Linked DNA regions of Homo sapiens: regions 2 and 3 are each linked to region 1. Evidence: promoter capture Hi-C in human tissues and cell types (Jung and others, 2019). All regions are on one chromosome and are shown on one strand. Each heading gives the region's core, a stretch centred on a gene start or on the middle of the fragment in contact. The rest is flanking DNA. Distances are from core to core; before and after follow the strand shown. Region 1 holds the start of POLDIP3 (DNA polymerase delta interacting protein 3). Region 2 overlaps NDUFA6-DT (NDUFA6 divergent transcript). Region 3 holds the start of PACSIN2 (protein kinase C and casein kinase substrate in neurons 2).

Region 1 (4,945 bases), core at 1,142-3,641:
TACCAGCCTTTGCTGAACACTTGCCACATGGCACAAACTTTAAAACATACCTTCTGGCCCGGCGCAGTGTCTCATGCTTGTAATCCCAGGACTTTGGGAGGCCGAGCGGGTTCGGCCTGAGGTGAGGAGTTCGAGACCAGCCTGGCCAACATGGTAAAACCCCATCTCTACTAAAAATACAAAAATTAGACAGTCGTGGTGTCGGGCACCTGTAATCCCAGCTACTTGGGAGGCTGAGACAGGAGAATCACTTAAACCCAAGAGGCAGAGGTTGCAGTGTGCCAAGGCTGTGCCACTGCACTCCAGCCTGAGCAATACAGTGAGACTCCCTCTCAAAAAAACAAACAAAAAAAACCCTTCTCACATTTAATCCCGCTCAACCAGGAATCACCATTCCAAGTGAGGAAACTGCCTAGTTCAGAACTCCCCTGGCCAGGGAAACAGAACCCAACAGTGGCAAGTGCCAGGTGTATCCAGCTGCAAGGCCCCTGTTCCTGTGGATCCACACATAACCACCCCCCATTCCTGCAGCCCCACCTACTGCCCAACACAAAACTCTGCACACACTAAAACCAAAAACATAGAGATCAAATAGACTACAGTGCAGTCCACCTGCAGTCAGAAACTGGCGGAGTGACCTCAGAGAGAGAAGAACCTGGGGTGGATCATTCTGTCGTTTCCAAAGGAACCTACAAAACGTGGATGGACTTAGAAGTGGCCAGAGGAGCCAGCACCAGCTTCACATCAGTCACTAGATGGAGATCTGAGAGAGCTTTCACAGTCAGTAGTTGAGGAAACAAATACTAATGTGTGCCCGTTACGAACCACAAGCCAGGTAAGTGCTGGCTGCGAATTATGAGGTGGTGGTGGCAGTTGTAGTTGATACAAGTGTCCAGGATGGGGAAGGAGGTGAGGGATACATTTCAGACATCAAGAGAAAAACCTAACCACAGGCATACGGGTGGTATTAATAAACATCTGCGGAATGGCCGGGCCGGTGGCTCACGCCTGTAATCCCAGCACTTTAGGAGGCCGAGGCGGGAGGATCACCTGAGGTCAGGAGTTCGAAACCAGCCTGACCAACACAGTGAAACTTCCATCTCTACTAAAAATACAAAAATTAGCCGGGCGTGGTGGTGCACACCTGTAGTCCCTGCTACTTGGGAGGCTGAGGCAGGAGAATCGCTGGAACCGGGGAGGCGGAGGTTGCAGTGAGCCGAGATGGCACCACTGCACTCCAGCCTGGGCGACAGAGCAACACCCCGTCTCAAAAAAAACATAAAAATAAAAATAAACATCTGCTGAGAGAACAAATGTCTGAGAAAACAATATCTAACATATTTACATCCTGGCTATTTACAAAGACATTTAAACTTAATGTGTGTTGGGAAACTATTGGGCAAAGTTCTCACTTCTTCATACAGATGAACTCAGCTCACGAAGGCTTGAAATGACTAACAACATTTAAGGGTCTAGGGGAAGTTTGGGAGACATGACTGCAAATCACCTCCATGGCTCCTCAGCCAGCTCAAGCACTTTCTTCTCCCTAAGGAAATAACCAATCTCCTGCCCAACACACCAGTTTTTCAAGCCCATGTAGGAGGCCAACTCAGCCAGCAATTAAATCGCGCTCAGCCCGCCGCTCAGTTCTCCGTGGCCTCGGGCAAGTCACTCTACCACTTCCAGCCTCAAGTTCCCCATCAGTAAAAGGTGGGTAACATGAATAGCTAGCAGACAACAGGACTGTAAAAGATTAAATGAGGCATCGTGTATATGAAAGGGCTCAGAAAACTTAAAACGCCGCACAAAGAGAGGCGAGTGTTAACAGGGGCCGCGTGCAGGGGGATTTGGGCTTGCGCCTCAGCTTCGGCGGTCGGAGCAAGTCACTTCCCCGCTACTAAACTTCGGTTGTCTCAACTCTAAGATGGGTGGAGACCAGGCAGCGCCGAGATCACGGAGCGGGGCCCAAATGCCAGTCCACACAGGCAAGGAGGCTGCGCCGCCGAGACCCCAGGACCCCGGAACGCGGGGGCCCCAGGGGGCAGCCCCTCAGGTCCACGAGGCGGCACCCTGTCCCCGCCGCGGCCCCGTCGGCCTCCCAGGGCCGCCAGAGGGACTGCGCCTCGGCCAGTGGGCGGGCGGTCGGGGCCACGGCGGGGACGGCGGCAGCCGGCCAATGAGGAGCGCGGCTGTGGTCGGGGGCGGGCGCACCCGGTCCTCCGCGTCGCTCCCGGATCGCTACCTCCCCCGCCTCGAGCTCCACTAGGCCGAGGACCCTAAACCCCGAAGAAAGGAAAGGCCTCTCACCGTCCTTTCGCCGCCGCCCCGCGCTTCCTGATGAGTTCGTCCAGGGAGATGTCCGCCATCTTGCTCCGCCGAGCAAGCCGAAAGCAGTCGAGACCCCGCGAGCCCGCCCCTTCGGCCGCTAGGGAGCGACGAACTACTTCCGGCGTCCGCGGACCAACTCTCGCGACAGCCAGCTCAAAGCAGGCAAGAACCGGAAGGGGCGGGGACGTTCCCCGTGAGCCTTCGCGGTGCTGGCTGCTCATCTGCATACGGAAGTTCGGCACATTATGAATTATTTATTTTCCTCGAGGGAAAAAATTAAATGAAAAGCAACAAAATACATTATTAACAAGTGAGACAAACTTCAATGGAACTGGATCATGACCTCAACAGTCAACTACGATAGTCATCATACGCCTAATGAGAATAGAATTCATTACCTAGGAAATAAACTAAAAACGTCCTTATGCCTTAAACTTATGAGTAAGGAAAATAACGATTCGGGGTGACGCCCGAATCCTCACTGCTAATGTGAGACGAATTTTTGAGCGGGTAAAGGTCGCCCTCAAGGTGACCCGCCTACTTTGCGGGATGCCTGGGAGTTGCGATCTGCCCGACCTTATTCACGCCTAAAAAGTAGACTGACTGTGGGGTGGTCGTGTTTTTTGTTTCTTGTTGGTAGGTGGTGAATGCGTTTTTTTCGTTGTTTTCTCCGTTACTCAGGCTGCCAGTTGCTTGGCAGTCTTGTCGCTGGCTGTGGACGCTCTGCACTTCATCACCGTCCCCAGCTGCGCTTTGAGCCGGTCTAAGGTTGCCCACAGTATTGACGTTGGGACCCACGAAACTGGCAATTTCCATGTGTGCGGCCTTACCCAGTTCTCCCAAACTTCTGCGTATAACCGCTTCTCTGTGCTTCAGAAAGATAAGTCCGGCCCCGGCCTCACACAGCAGCTCAGTTCGTGACAGCGTTTAATATGTAAAATGGAGCAAATAATTTATAGGGCGTTGGGAGAGTTAAAGAGACTAATTCATTTACGTGTTAAATACAGGGAATGGCTTTTGCATTGATATAACCCCAGCCTCCAGCATGCGCCAGACCTGACGTAGGTGTTCGGCACATATTTTGTCCAATCACTCTAAAAATACACTCCATGCCCTTAGAACAGGTGGGGTTATGTCCTCTTGGCCATCAGGCATCAGGAGCTCCGTGCAGAAACTGGGTAAGAGGCCAGGAGCGGTGGCTCATGTCTGTAATCTCAGCACTTTGGGAGGCTGAGGCGGGTGGATCACCTGAAGTCAGGAGGTCGAGACCAGCCTGGCCAACACGGAGAAACCCCGTCTCTACTGAAAAAAAAAAAAAGAAAGAAAAAAATTAGCCGGGCGCGGTGGCACGGCCTGAAATCCCACCTACTCAGGAGCCTGAGGCAGAAGAATCGCTTGAACTCGGGAGGCGGAGGTTGCGGTGAGCCGAGATCGCGCCATTGCACTCCAGCCTAGGCGACAGAGCAAGACTCCGTTTCAAAAAAAAAAAAAAAAGAAAGAAAGAAAGAAACTGGGTAAGAGCGATCCTGCAATCCTCCTGCCTCAGCCTCCTGAGTAGCTGGGATTACAGGCCCGCCCCACCACGCCGGGCTCCTTCCCAGACCTCTTTTCCTCACCCATAGAACGGGACCATTAAGCCTTTCCTCCCTTCCAGGCGTGCCAGGAGGAACGCGCAAGAGGTGGGAGGAGGACAGGCTGGCCAGTGGGGTCAGCTGGGCAGTGTAGGGCAGATGCGGAGGACAATTTTATTTTTATTTTTGAGACGGTGTCTCGCTCTGTCGCCCAGGCTGGAGTGCAGTGGCACAATCTCAGCTCACCACAGCCTCCGCCTCCCGGGTTCAAGCGATTCTCCTGTCTCAGCCACCCGAGTAGCTGGGATTACAGGCGCACGCCACCACGCCCGGCTAATTTTTGTATTTTTAGTAGAGACGGGGGTTTCACAATGTTGGCCAGGCTGGTCTCGAACTCCTGACCTCAGGTGATCCACCTGCTTCGGCCTCCCAAAGTGCTGGGATTACAAGCATGAGACACAGCACCCGGCCTCCTTTCTTGTTCTTTTACAACTCATTTAGAGCTGTGTTGATTTTTAAAATTCTTCGTATAGGTAGGTGATACTGCCTGTGAATTCTGCAGCGTAAAGGGCCCGTTACAACTGTTATTTTAAAGGTGTTGGCCAGGCATGGTGGCTCACACCTGTGATCCCAGCACTTTGGGAGGCCGAGGAGGGTGGGTCACCTGAGGTCAGGAGTTTCAGACCAGTCTGACCAACATGGTGAAACCCCATCTCTACTAAAAATACAAACAAATTAGCCGGTGTGGTGGTGCACGCCTGTAATCCCCAGGTATTCCGGAGACTGAGGCAATAGAACCGCTTGAACCTGGGAGGCAGAGGCTGCAGGGAGCCAAGATCATGTCACTGCACTCCAGCCTGGGAGACAGAGCGAGACTCCGTCCCAAAAATAATAAATAAAGGTGTCGAGTCTGTATGGAGAATCGCTGCCTTAGAGCCCTCTCCCATTTTCTGAATGGGGAAACAGACCTGGAGAGGGTGGGAATCGGGTCCAATTGATCCCCTTTTCCCACGTCCCCTTTCCCAGGAGGCAGCCTCTTGTGGGCT
Region 2 (4,945 bases), core at 1,411-3,910, 500 kb before region 1:
TCCAATCATGATAGAAGCGAACAGGTTCTTTTGATCTATAACCCAGGATTTTACTTTGCACATTATATCATATTTGGGTTTTAGTTTTTTATCTCCTCCTCTCACAGCCACCTTTTCTAGTTTATCTATAATGGGCCCAGTCATTCCTCATCTTTAAGCTGAAGCTCTTCATGTATTATTTCTATATCTCGAATAGGATCTACACTTTCTTCAACATGTGTGATATCATCATCTTCAAAAGCACGTGTTAGATGAAAGATGCCATCACAAGCACTAAAATGAGATAAAAAAGCATTCCCCAGGCCCTGCCCATTGTGAGCTCCTTTCACAAGGCCAGCAATATCCACTACATTTAGAAAGGCAGGAATTTTGCTTGCTGGTTTGTGATATTGGCAAAGAAAGTCAAACCTTTCATCTGGCACAGGTACTCTGCTCTCATTAGGATCAATAGTGCAGAATGGGAAGTTTTCTGCTGAAGCCTGACTATTGGTTAATACATTGAAGAAAGTAGATTTCCCAACATTTGGCAATCCAACAATACCAATTTTCAGTGAGGTTCCAAATCTTCCAATGATTGGGGGTGGTTTAATTCCATCACCTCCCTTTTGAGGGGGCATCGTGCTCAGCCTGGGCTATGACACGGGGTCCCAGTAGCAGCGAGAGAAAGGTCCTGCCGGCAGCCAGAGGCGGGGAGGAAGGAGGAGAGAACGCAGGCCCGGCCCCTCCGCCGAGCGGCATGCCGCACTACGGCGGCGACAGCGGTGGAACCGCCGTTTGGATTCTTAACAGGGCAATAGGAAGATATTTGATCCCTGGCAACCGAATCTATAGAACTAACTTGGTTAAATGGTTCTTTAAGGTCTGATTCATCCTTTCTACTCTCCCTGATGAAGGTGGGTGCCAAGGAGTATGATATTTCCATCTAATGTCTAGCGCTTAGGATAGCTTTTTAATGATATGTGCTATGAAATAGGTTTCACTGTCTGAGTCAATATTTTCTATTAGCCCAAACCTGGGCACTATATTTTCAATTAATGCTTTAACTACATGATTGGCCATTGCATTTGAAAAGGGAATAGCTTCGACCCAGTGAGTGAGGTGATCTGCTATTACTAAGTACTTTAGGCAACCGATTGGGGGCATTTCAATGTAATCAGTTTGAACACTTTGGAATGGTCTTAGCCCTGAATCCCTCCCCGCCCAGGGATGATTTCTTTATAACTTGTTTGTTGGTTTCCTTACATGTTAAGCAACTATCCATAACCTGTTTGGCTAGGGTATATACCCATAAACCCTGAGAACTGTGTCACACATGGCTTGGGGTCCCCAGTGTGTCCCTTGATGCAGGTGGGTAGGATTTCTCTCATGAGCGGTTTGAATAGCATTTCTCTTTGATCTGGTAACACCCATTTTCCTTCTGAGTTTTCTTTGGCTCCATTTTTATTAATTTTTCCTTTTCTGCAGCAGACAAGGTAGGGGTTGCAGCAGGGGGAGGAAGACGAGGGGTTAAGTGAAAGGTGTTTCAGATGAAATGGCAGCCTGTTTAGCCACTTGATCTGCAAGGTTATTTCCCTGACTTGTAAAGGAAAAGTCGTTTTGGTGTCCGGGGACATGTACAATGGCTATTTCTTCTGGCAACTGGAGATTGTTTAAAACATGGACGATTAGCTCCTCGTGGGTAAGATATTTTGGCCTTTAGTTTTTTTTTGTTTTTTGGTGTTTTTTTGAGACGGAGTCTTGCTCTGTCACCCAGGCTGGAGTGCAGTGGCACGATCTCAGCTCATTGCAAGTTCCACCTCCCGGGTTCACGCCATTCTCCTGCCTCAGCCTCCTGAGTAGCTGGGACTACAGGATCCCGCTACCACACCTGGCTAATTTTTTTGTATTTTTAGTAGAGACGGGGTTTCACCATGTTAGCCAGGATGGTCTTGATCTCCTGACCTCGTGATCCGCCCACCTCAGCCTCCCAAAGTGCTGGGATTACAGGCATGAGCCACCGCGCCTGGCCTGGCCTTTAGTATTAATAAGACCTTGCTCAGCCCAAATTTTTCCAAATATATGAGCTACTCCAAAAATGTATTTAGAATCAGTATGAATAGTTCCTTCCTTGCTCTGTAAGTGTTTTAAAACCTGGCTGAGTGCAAATAGTTCACATGCTTTGGCAGACCAACTATTGGGCAACCTTCCTGACTCTGTTTCTTCAAGAGTTTCTCCATCAATTACTGAATACCCATTGTATTTTTCTCCTTTAATTGCTTGGGATCAACCATCTATAAATAAGTGTCACCCCATTTTGAAAGGGGTCTCTCTTAGATCCGGCCTGACCTTTGTTTGGTAGTCAGTTAGATCTAGACATAAGTGTTCTCTTTTTAGATTTGGGTCCCCTGTTAAGAAACCTCTCGGATTGAGTGAGTTATCAGTAGTCAAGGTTAAATCATCTTTTTAGTAAAATAGCCTCCTATTTTAAGATTCTGGAGTCAGTGAGCCACCTTCCTGCTTTTTTATTTAAAATAGCTCTAACTTGGTGGGGTGTGCTTACAGTCAATTTCCCCCCAAAGATTAATTTTCTACTTTCTTCAACTAATACTGCTGTAGCTGCAACGAATTGGATGCACTGAGGCTACCCACAGGTGACTGGGTCTAAAATTTTTGATAGGAAGGCTACGGGCTGCCGGTGACCACCATGTTCTTGAGTAAGAACCCCTAAAGCTACCCCGTTATTTACATTAACAAAAAGATGAAATGGCTTTTCTAGGGAAGCTAAGGCTAAGACAGGGGCAGTTATGAGTTTGTATTTCAGCTCTTCAACCTGATTGACTTCCTCAGAAGTCCACAGGAGACGGTCCAGTTTCCACTGGGTAAGCTTTTCATATAAAAGTTTACTTTTTAGGGCATATGAGTCAATCCATAAGCATCAATATCCAACTAATCCTAGAAATTTTCTGAGTTATTGCTTAGTTTGAGGCAAGGGTAAGGACACGATGCCTTCAACTCGTTCAGGTCCTATCCTTTGCTTACCTGCACTTATTAAGTGGCCTAAATATTTAACTTCAGGCTCCACATACTGAAGCTTTCCCTTTAAGAACCATAACCCCTCGAACTCCAGATGGTTAAGGATATGTGTAGAGAAGCCAGCTACTTTCTCTACATCTTCAACAGATACGAGAATATCATCCATGTACTGGAGCAGGCATATTTGCTTTGGGATGACAACTTTTTCTAACACTTGTTCTAAAATTTGACCAAAAAGGTTTGGAGAGTCTGTAAACCCTTGAGGTAAAACTGTCCATCAATAATGTTGTTTTCGCCCTGAATGGGGATCCTACCACTCAAAAGCAAATATGTCTCAGCTGTCTTCAGCCAAGGGGCATGCCCAGAAGGCATCTTTTAAATCTATTACTGTAAACAACTGATGGTTTTTTGGAATTTTGCTGAGAATGGTGTATGGGTTGGGGACAACAGGATGGTTAGTTTGGACTATTTGATGGCTCTAAGATCTTGTACCAAGTCGGTATGACGCATCTAATTTCTTGACTGGCAATATTGGAGTGTTATACGGGGACATACAGGGTTCAAGGAGCCCATCTTTAATAAGACTTTCAATTATAGGCTTTAATCCTATCCTGCCCTCTAGGGGTTTGGGGTATTGTTTCCTCCTTACTACTTCCCTGGGGATTCTTAACTTGATGTGGATTGGAGGGATTCAGAGTTTCTCCCGGTTTCCTTCCCTTGACCAGACACTAGGATTAATGCATTTTTCATCTGTGGTGGTGAGTAGGTTTAATGAGGTAAAGAATCCTTTAGGACCAACTTGTAAGCCTGTGCCTAATTCTAGCATTAAGTCTCTTCCTAATAGATTAGTTTCTGCCTCAGGGATCAACAAAAATTGGATATGAGTCAGCCGATCTTGGTATTTAACTTCTGTACTTTCTAAGATTTTTGCTTTAAATCCTTCTCCTTTTACCCCAGAGACTAAAAGTTCTTCTGAAGAGCAGGCAATGTTGGATGGGGGGAAGCAAATGGAGGAGCGAGCCACTCCTGAATTGACTAAAAGGTGATAAGCTCATGTTTGGTTCCCACCTGTAAATTTATCAAGGGCTCCTGGTGGGACTCGAGATAAACAGAGCCCCTGACCCCCCTGTTCTTCCTCAAAAGTCATGAGTTGAAGGGCTTCTTTCTCCTTTTCCAGTTTGGGACATTCTCTTTTGAAGTGGCCTGCCCTTCAAACGGTCTGGACGGACCGTTTATAGTTTCTGGCCCCCTGGAAGCTTTGTTTAGAAGCATAAACGAGGGTCTGGACCTTTTATAGTTTCTGGCCCCCTGGAAGCTTTGTTTAGAAGCATAAACGAGGGTCTGGACCTTTTATAGTTTCTGGCCCCCTGGAAGCTTTGTTTAGAAGCATAAACGAGGGTCTGGACCTTTTATAGTTTCTGGCCCCCTGGAAGCTTTGTTTAGAAGCATAAATGAGGGTCTGGACCTTTTATAGTTTCTGGCCCCCTGGAAGCTTTGTTTAGAAGCATAAACGAGGGTCTGGACCTTTTATAGTTTCTGGCCCCCTGGAAGCTTTGTTTAGAAGCATAAATGAGGGTCTGGACCGTCTATCGTTTCTGGCCCCCTGGAAGCTTTGTTTAGAAGCATGTGGGTGTGGGGCCACCTGCTGGAAAGTGGATAACGTGAGTTTTTGCCTTTTGTTTTTGCTTCTTTCCTCACATATATTTTTTGAGCTTCTCCCAGAAGTTCACTTAGAGGTTGGTTTTCCCAGTCTTCTAATTTTTGTAACTTTTTTGAAATATCTGGCCAACTTGTAGTGACAAAATGGAGCTTTAACACTCCCTGTCCAAGGAGATCTTCCAAATTTAGGCCTGCATATTGTCTTGTTTGGTCCTTTATTCTTGTCTAGAAATTTCATAGGCCCCCTCATCTTTTTCCTATTGTATATCAAATG
Region 3 (4,945 bases), core at 1,213-3,712, 400 kb after region 1:
TTGTTGCCTAGGCTGGAGTGCAACGGCCGGATCTTGGCTCACCGCAACCTCCGCCTCCTGGGTTCAAGCAATTCTCCTTCCTCAGCCTCCCAAGTAGCTGGGATTACAGGTATGAGCACCACCACACCCAGCTAATTTTGTATTTTTAGTAGACATGGGGTTTCTCCATGTTGGTCAAGCTGGTCTCGAACTCCCGACCTCTGGTGATCCGCCCGCCTCTGCCTCCCAAAGTGCTGGAGATTACAGGCGTGAGCCACCACGCCCGGCCTTAATTTTTGTATCTTTAGTAGAGACGGGGTTTCACCATGTTAGCCAGGCTGGTCTCTAAGTTCTGACCTCAGGTGATCTGCCCGCCTCGGCCTTCCCAAGTGCTGGGATCCCAGGCGTGAGCCACCCCGCCCAGCCTAGATTATTTAAATATCACATCACAACTTCATATACATTTGAGATTAAAAGTGATAAAGTTCCAAGTCCCAAAGCAGCACGAGCTAAGGATACCATTTCCATTCAAATGAGTTGTTATTCTTCTCCCAAAAAGTGGATAAAGAGTGCAGACCTAATCACCCATCTACTTCTCTGTGTTATGTTACTTTCCCAAGTAATAAATATCACCAGCCTAATGGCCACTTTCTTTAAAGCTTTAAGTCTATTGTCAAAAGAAAAACACACCAATGTTTTTGATGTAGTGGCCTCATATCTCAACCAGCATAACCTCACCAAAGAGGCTACCAAACTCTAGAATTAAGTTTAAGTCCACACAAGTGAAAGTTTTCCAGGTGAATCAAGAGAGATCCAAGTTGCACTGGCACAGCTTCAATGTCTCCATGAGGAGGCTGCATGCAGGCAGGCTCATGAATCAAGTGGAACGACAACATCTTGGGCAAGAACAGGAGGGCTGGCATTCAACACTGCCTGCCTGGTCGGTTCCCTTGCCCTGGGCTCCAACCTGGCAATCCCAGGAGGGTTAAAACAGAACTTCAGCACACGGGAATAACCGCAGAGGAAGGCACCGAAAAGGAGGGAAGGAAGAAGGTGTGAGCTCACCATCTGCAGCTGAGGTTCAAACTCTTTGAGCTGGTTTCCTGATTTTCATCAAGACAGCCAGGCAGTATTTGGTAAACAGTGTACCAAGTAGCCCTGGAGACTCTGAGCAGCCTACCCCCTTAACCACAAAAACACCGGACAGGCGGAGGGAAAAAGAGAAGACAGGATCCAGGAATGGTGCACACACCCAGCCAAAGGCCACCTTCCCTCAGGCACCCAAGCCAAGAGTGGCATCCCCAGGTCCTGTTATACGTCAAAGGCTGCAGCCGTGTGGGCCCCAAAGCAATAGCACAGCTTGCTCCCCTGACCAACCAACTCCTTCTGAAAAGAAAATCGACCTTCTCTGATGGAGCCGAAACCCAATGAATCAATGAAATTCAACAGCAGCAGCAATCACTACCTCTCCAATTGCGGACCTCTCAGGATGCCTGGCCAGGCTTGAAAGCCCTAGAGGAGTAAGGAGTTCGGATTTCTGATTCAGTGAGTCTGGGGAAACTCTGAGGAGGGTCACAAGGGCAAACCTCCCCGGCCTCTCCTGCTTGGCCCCAGCCCTAGGACGTGCTGCGGTAAGGGCTTTGCTCCCCCCGCCCTACACACACACACACACACACACACACACACAGACACACACACACCACCCCCCCCCCCCCGGGACACGGAGGGTGGGAAGGAAGGAAATGGAGGCCGCTCATCAAAGCGCCCGAAATCAGCGCACCCGCGTGTGTCCTGCGTCGCCCCCCAGGCCACCCCAGGACTAAGCCCTGCCCTCTCACCGGCGCGTCCCAGCCACGCCTTCCCTCCAGCGTTGCTCCGGCACCCTCGCCTAACCTCTGCACGTCTCGGATTCCCAGCTTTCTCCTAAATCGCGTCCCTCCAAAAGTCGCCCCAGCTCCCCCTTCTGCAGCTGTCTACACCTCCCCCACTCATTAGCAGCTCTTAACCCCCGACGGCCCTGCTCCTGCACTTCCCTCTCCAGCAGGCCCCGGACCCCGGAAAACTGCCCCGCTCCCACAGCGCCGCCCCCATGGGCCCCCGCCCCTTCCCCGAGCCGACCCCACTCGCCCTCGTCCTCCCCAAGATGTCTTCTCCAGGCGCCCCCCGGGGCCCCGAGCACTCGCCCCCTCCCACAGAGACAGGAAGTTCCGCGCGGCCCGACCCGCTTCCCTCAGGGCGCGGAGCTCGGCGCGGCGGCCCTGACGGGGCGCGGGCCCGGCCGCGGACCAGCGCCCCCGCGTCCCGCCCGCGGCGCCCCAACCGTCGCGGCGACCCCTGACCTCGGCGGCCACTCACCTCCCAATCCGTCGCACACTCCGTTCAGGCTGCCACGGCGTCTCCAGACCCAGCTCCGGCCGGGCTCCCGCTACCGCTTTTGCTCCGGCAGCACTGCCCAGCCCTGCCCAGACCCCTGCGGCCGCTTCTGCCGCCAGCCGCGACCGCACCGCCCCCGCCGCTCCCGCTGGGCTCTGTCCATTGGCTACCGGACACCGAGCCCCGCCCCACAGCCTCCCCGGCGCCCCCGATTGGGCCAGATGAGTAGAGAGGCGGCTCACCCCGCGTGAGGACGAGGGAAAGCCCCAGGACGCGCATTGGTGACTTCTCCTGTCAATCAAACGGGGAGTGCCTATTTAATGGGCTGCGAGGGTGGCGCAGATTACTCTCCCAAAGCCGCTCGCTGGTGGTGGTCCTTGAGACGCGCTTCCCGGGGCTGGAGTTTTGCGGTTTCGTCGGCATCCAGGGGTAAGAGGGCGCGGCAGGGCAGCACCGCACCTGACCGGAAGTTCAGGGAAGGTAATCCTACAGTCTTTCAGAAAGTTTCCTCTCCCAAGGGACTCAAAGAAGCTAATGTCGTTAGGAGCTCCTCCGACTTGCGCCAAAAGCGTCATTCCACGTGGACCCGCTTAGTTTAAACGGGGGGTTGGGGGGGCGTATGTTGCTGCTCTCTCTAATAAAATATATTTGGATGGCAAGGCACCAGGCAATGCACACGCATTCTTTCCAATTCTCACAATCACCTTGCATGATAGGGTATTAGCCCCGTTCTGCAGAGGGAAATACTCTTGAAGGAAAATGGAGAGCACTTCCTGAGCACTGTCCTACGCGCTGTCCAAGCACTGCTTCATGTCATCCAGGTGGAGAGGATGGTGAGAGGAACCCCAGGTGAGGGGTGAGCCAGGTAACTTGCTGGGGGTGATGTGGAGTAAAGAGAGTAAATGGCAGAGCCAGGATTAGAAACCCAGGTCAGCCCAACCCTTGAGAATAATAATGATGACTGTGTAGCACTATGGGAAAATGCTTAAACTAAAACGTTAAAAGAAAAAGCCAGATAGAGCCAGGCATGGTGACATGCACCTGGAATCCCAGCTTCTTGGGACGCCGAGGCAGGAGAATCGCTTCAGCCCAGGAGTTTGAGGCCAACCTGGGCCACATAGCAAGACCCAGTTCTCTAAAAAGTAAAATAAAAGAAAATAATAATAAAAGAAAAAGCTAGATACAAAATGGTAGAAACTGTAGAATTGCTGCTACATATAGATAGGTATGAGAAAAGAGTCCACAAAGAAATCTAGTGGTTGTTTACTTTCTAGACTGCTCTGTGGCATTGTCCTTATGACAATAATTGAGAAAGAAACAAAAGAACCGGCTAGGCACGGTGGCTCACGCCTGGAATCCCAGTACTCTGGGAGGCCGAGGCGGGCAGATCACAAGGTCAGGAGTTTGAGACCAGCCTGGCCAACACAGTGAAAGCCTGTCTCTGCTAAAAATACAAAAAATTAGCTGGGTGTGGTGGCATGCACCTGTAATCCCAGCTACTTGGGAGTCTGAGGCAGGAGAATCACTTGAACCTGGGAGGCGGAGGTTGCAGTGAGCCAAGATCACGCCACTGTACTCCAGCCCTGGCGACAGTGCGAGACTCCATCTCAAAAAAAAAAAAAAAAAACCAACACACAGTGCCAGGACAAACCACTGCCAAGAAGTCTCTCCTCATTCTCCAGGACTGAGCCAACAGGGACCTCTTTGCCACCCACAATACCTGTGGACCATTTGTATAGATAGAACTCAGCCATCAGCTCTCAGCACTTTCATATCTGGGTAAGTTCCGCTTACATCGCAATTCCATGCCCTATAAAAATATAGAGCCTTGTCGGGCGCTGTGGCTCACGCCTGTAATCCTAGCACTTTGGGAGGCCGAGACGGGCGGATCACGAGGTCAGGAGATCAAGACCATCCTGGCTAACATGGTGAAACCCTGTCTCTACTAAAAATACAAAAAATTAGCCAGGCGTGGTGGCGGTCGCCTGTGGTCCCAGCTACTCGGGAGGCTGAGGCAGGAGAATGGCGTGAACCCGGGAGGCGGAGCTTGCAGTGAGCTGATATCGCGCCACTGCACTCCAGCCCGGGCAACAGAGTGAGACTCCGCCTCAAAAAAAAAAAGAAATACAGAGCCTCTCCCAAATTTTTGGGGGTTTTTGTTTTGGTTTGTTTGAGACAGGGTCTCACTCTGATGCCCAGGCTGGAATGCAGTGGCACAATGATGGCTCACTGCAGCCTTGACCTCCTAGGCTCAAGCCATCCTCCTGCCTCAGCCTCCCAAGTAGCTGCGACCACTGGTGCGCACCACCATGCCCAGTTAATTATTTTTTAAAATCTTTGTAGAGACAGAATCTCGCCATGTTGCCCAGGCTCGTCTTGAACTCCTGGGCTCAAGCAATCCTCCTGCCTCATCCTCCCAAAGTGCTGGGATTACACGCACGAGCCACTGTACGCAGCCTCTCCCAAGGTTTCTGAACAAGCGTCTGTCATCAGGCCTCCTGCTCTTCCACACACCGCATGCTCACTGGTCTCACCATCATCCCCTTATCCAGTTGCACGAATCCCCCTGCACTCCAAGCACTGCTGAGTCTAG

The links. The method cuts DNA at HindIII sites, captures the fragments that hold promoters and counts their contacts. A contact is called where the count stands out against the background at its distance.
Region 2: a fragment that was not itself captured here is called in contact with the fragment with the promoter of POLDIP3 in region 1 in 1 of the 25 tissues and cell types used here (dorsolateral prefrontal cortex).
Region 3: the fragment with the promoter of PACSIN2 here is called in contact with the fragment with the promoter of POLDIP3 in region 1 in 1 of the 25 tissues and cell types used here (spleen).

Annotation. Positions count from the first base shown.
Region 1 is chr22:42,612,492-42,617,436 of GRCh38, forward strand. It overlaps POLDIP3 (DNA polymerase delta interacting protein 3), which reads right to left and starts at 2,392. Exons shown (of 9, transcript NM_032311.5): 1 at 2,308-2,392. The coding sequence starts at 2,366. RNU12 (RNA, U12 small nuclear) reads left to right here and starts at 2,753; the gene lies at 2,753-2,902. LOC124905127 (a long non-coding RNA gene) reads right to left here and starts at 2,288. Exons shown (of 2, transcript XR_007068118.1): 1 at 1-2,288. RefSeq lists enhancers at 612-1,155, 1,700-2,243, 2,244-2,787, 2,280-2,459, 2,540-2,599 and 1 more and silencers at 1,880-2,209, 2,750-2,809. The HindIII fragment of the contact is 15,212 bases long and covers 1-4,945 here.
Region 2 is chr22:42,108,337-42,113,281 of GRCh38, forward strand. All of the region lies in intron 3 of NDUFA6-DT (NDUFA6 divergent transcript), which reads left to right. It also overlaps the pseudogene OLA1P1. Among named protein-coding and RNA genes, the nearest start is that of NDUFA6-DT, 20 kb to the left of the region's middle. The HindIII fragment of the contact is 3,273 bases long and covers 1,025-4,297 here.
Region 3 is chr22:43,012,687-43,017,631 of GRCh38, forward strand. PACSIN2 (protein kinase C and casein kinase substrate in neurons 2) reads right to left here and starts at 2,463. Exons shown (of 11, transcript NM_001184970.3): 1 at 2,335-2,463. RefSeq lists enhancers at 2,065-2,768, 2,751-2,950 and silencers at 2,191-2,260, 2,381-2,430, 2,441-2,630. The HindIII fragment of the contact is 29,159 bases long and covers 1-4,945 here.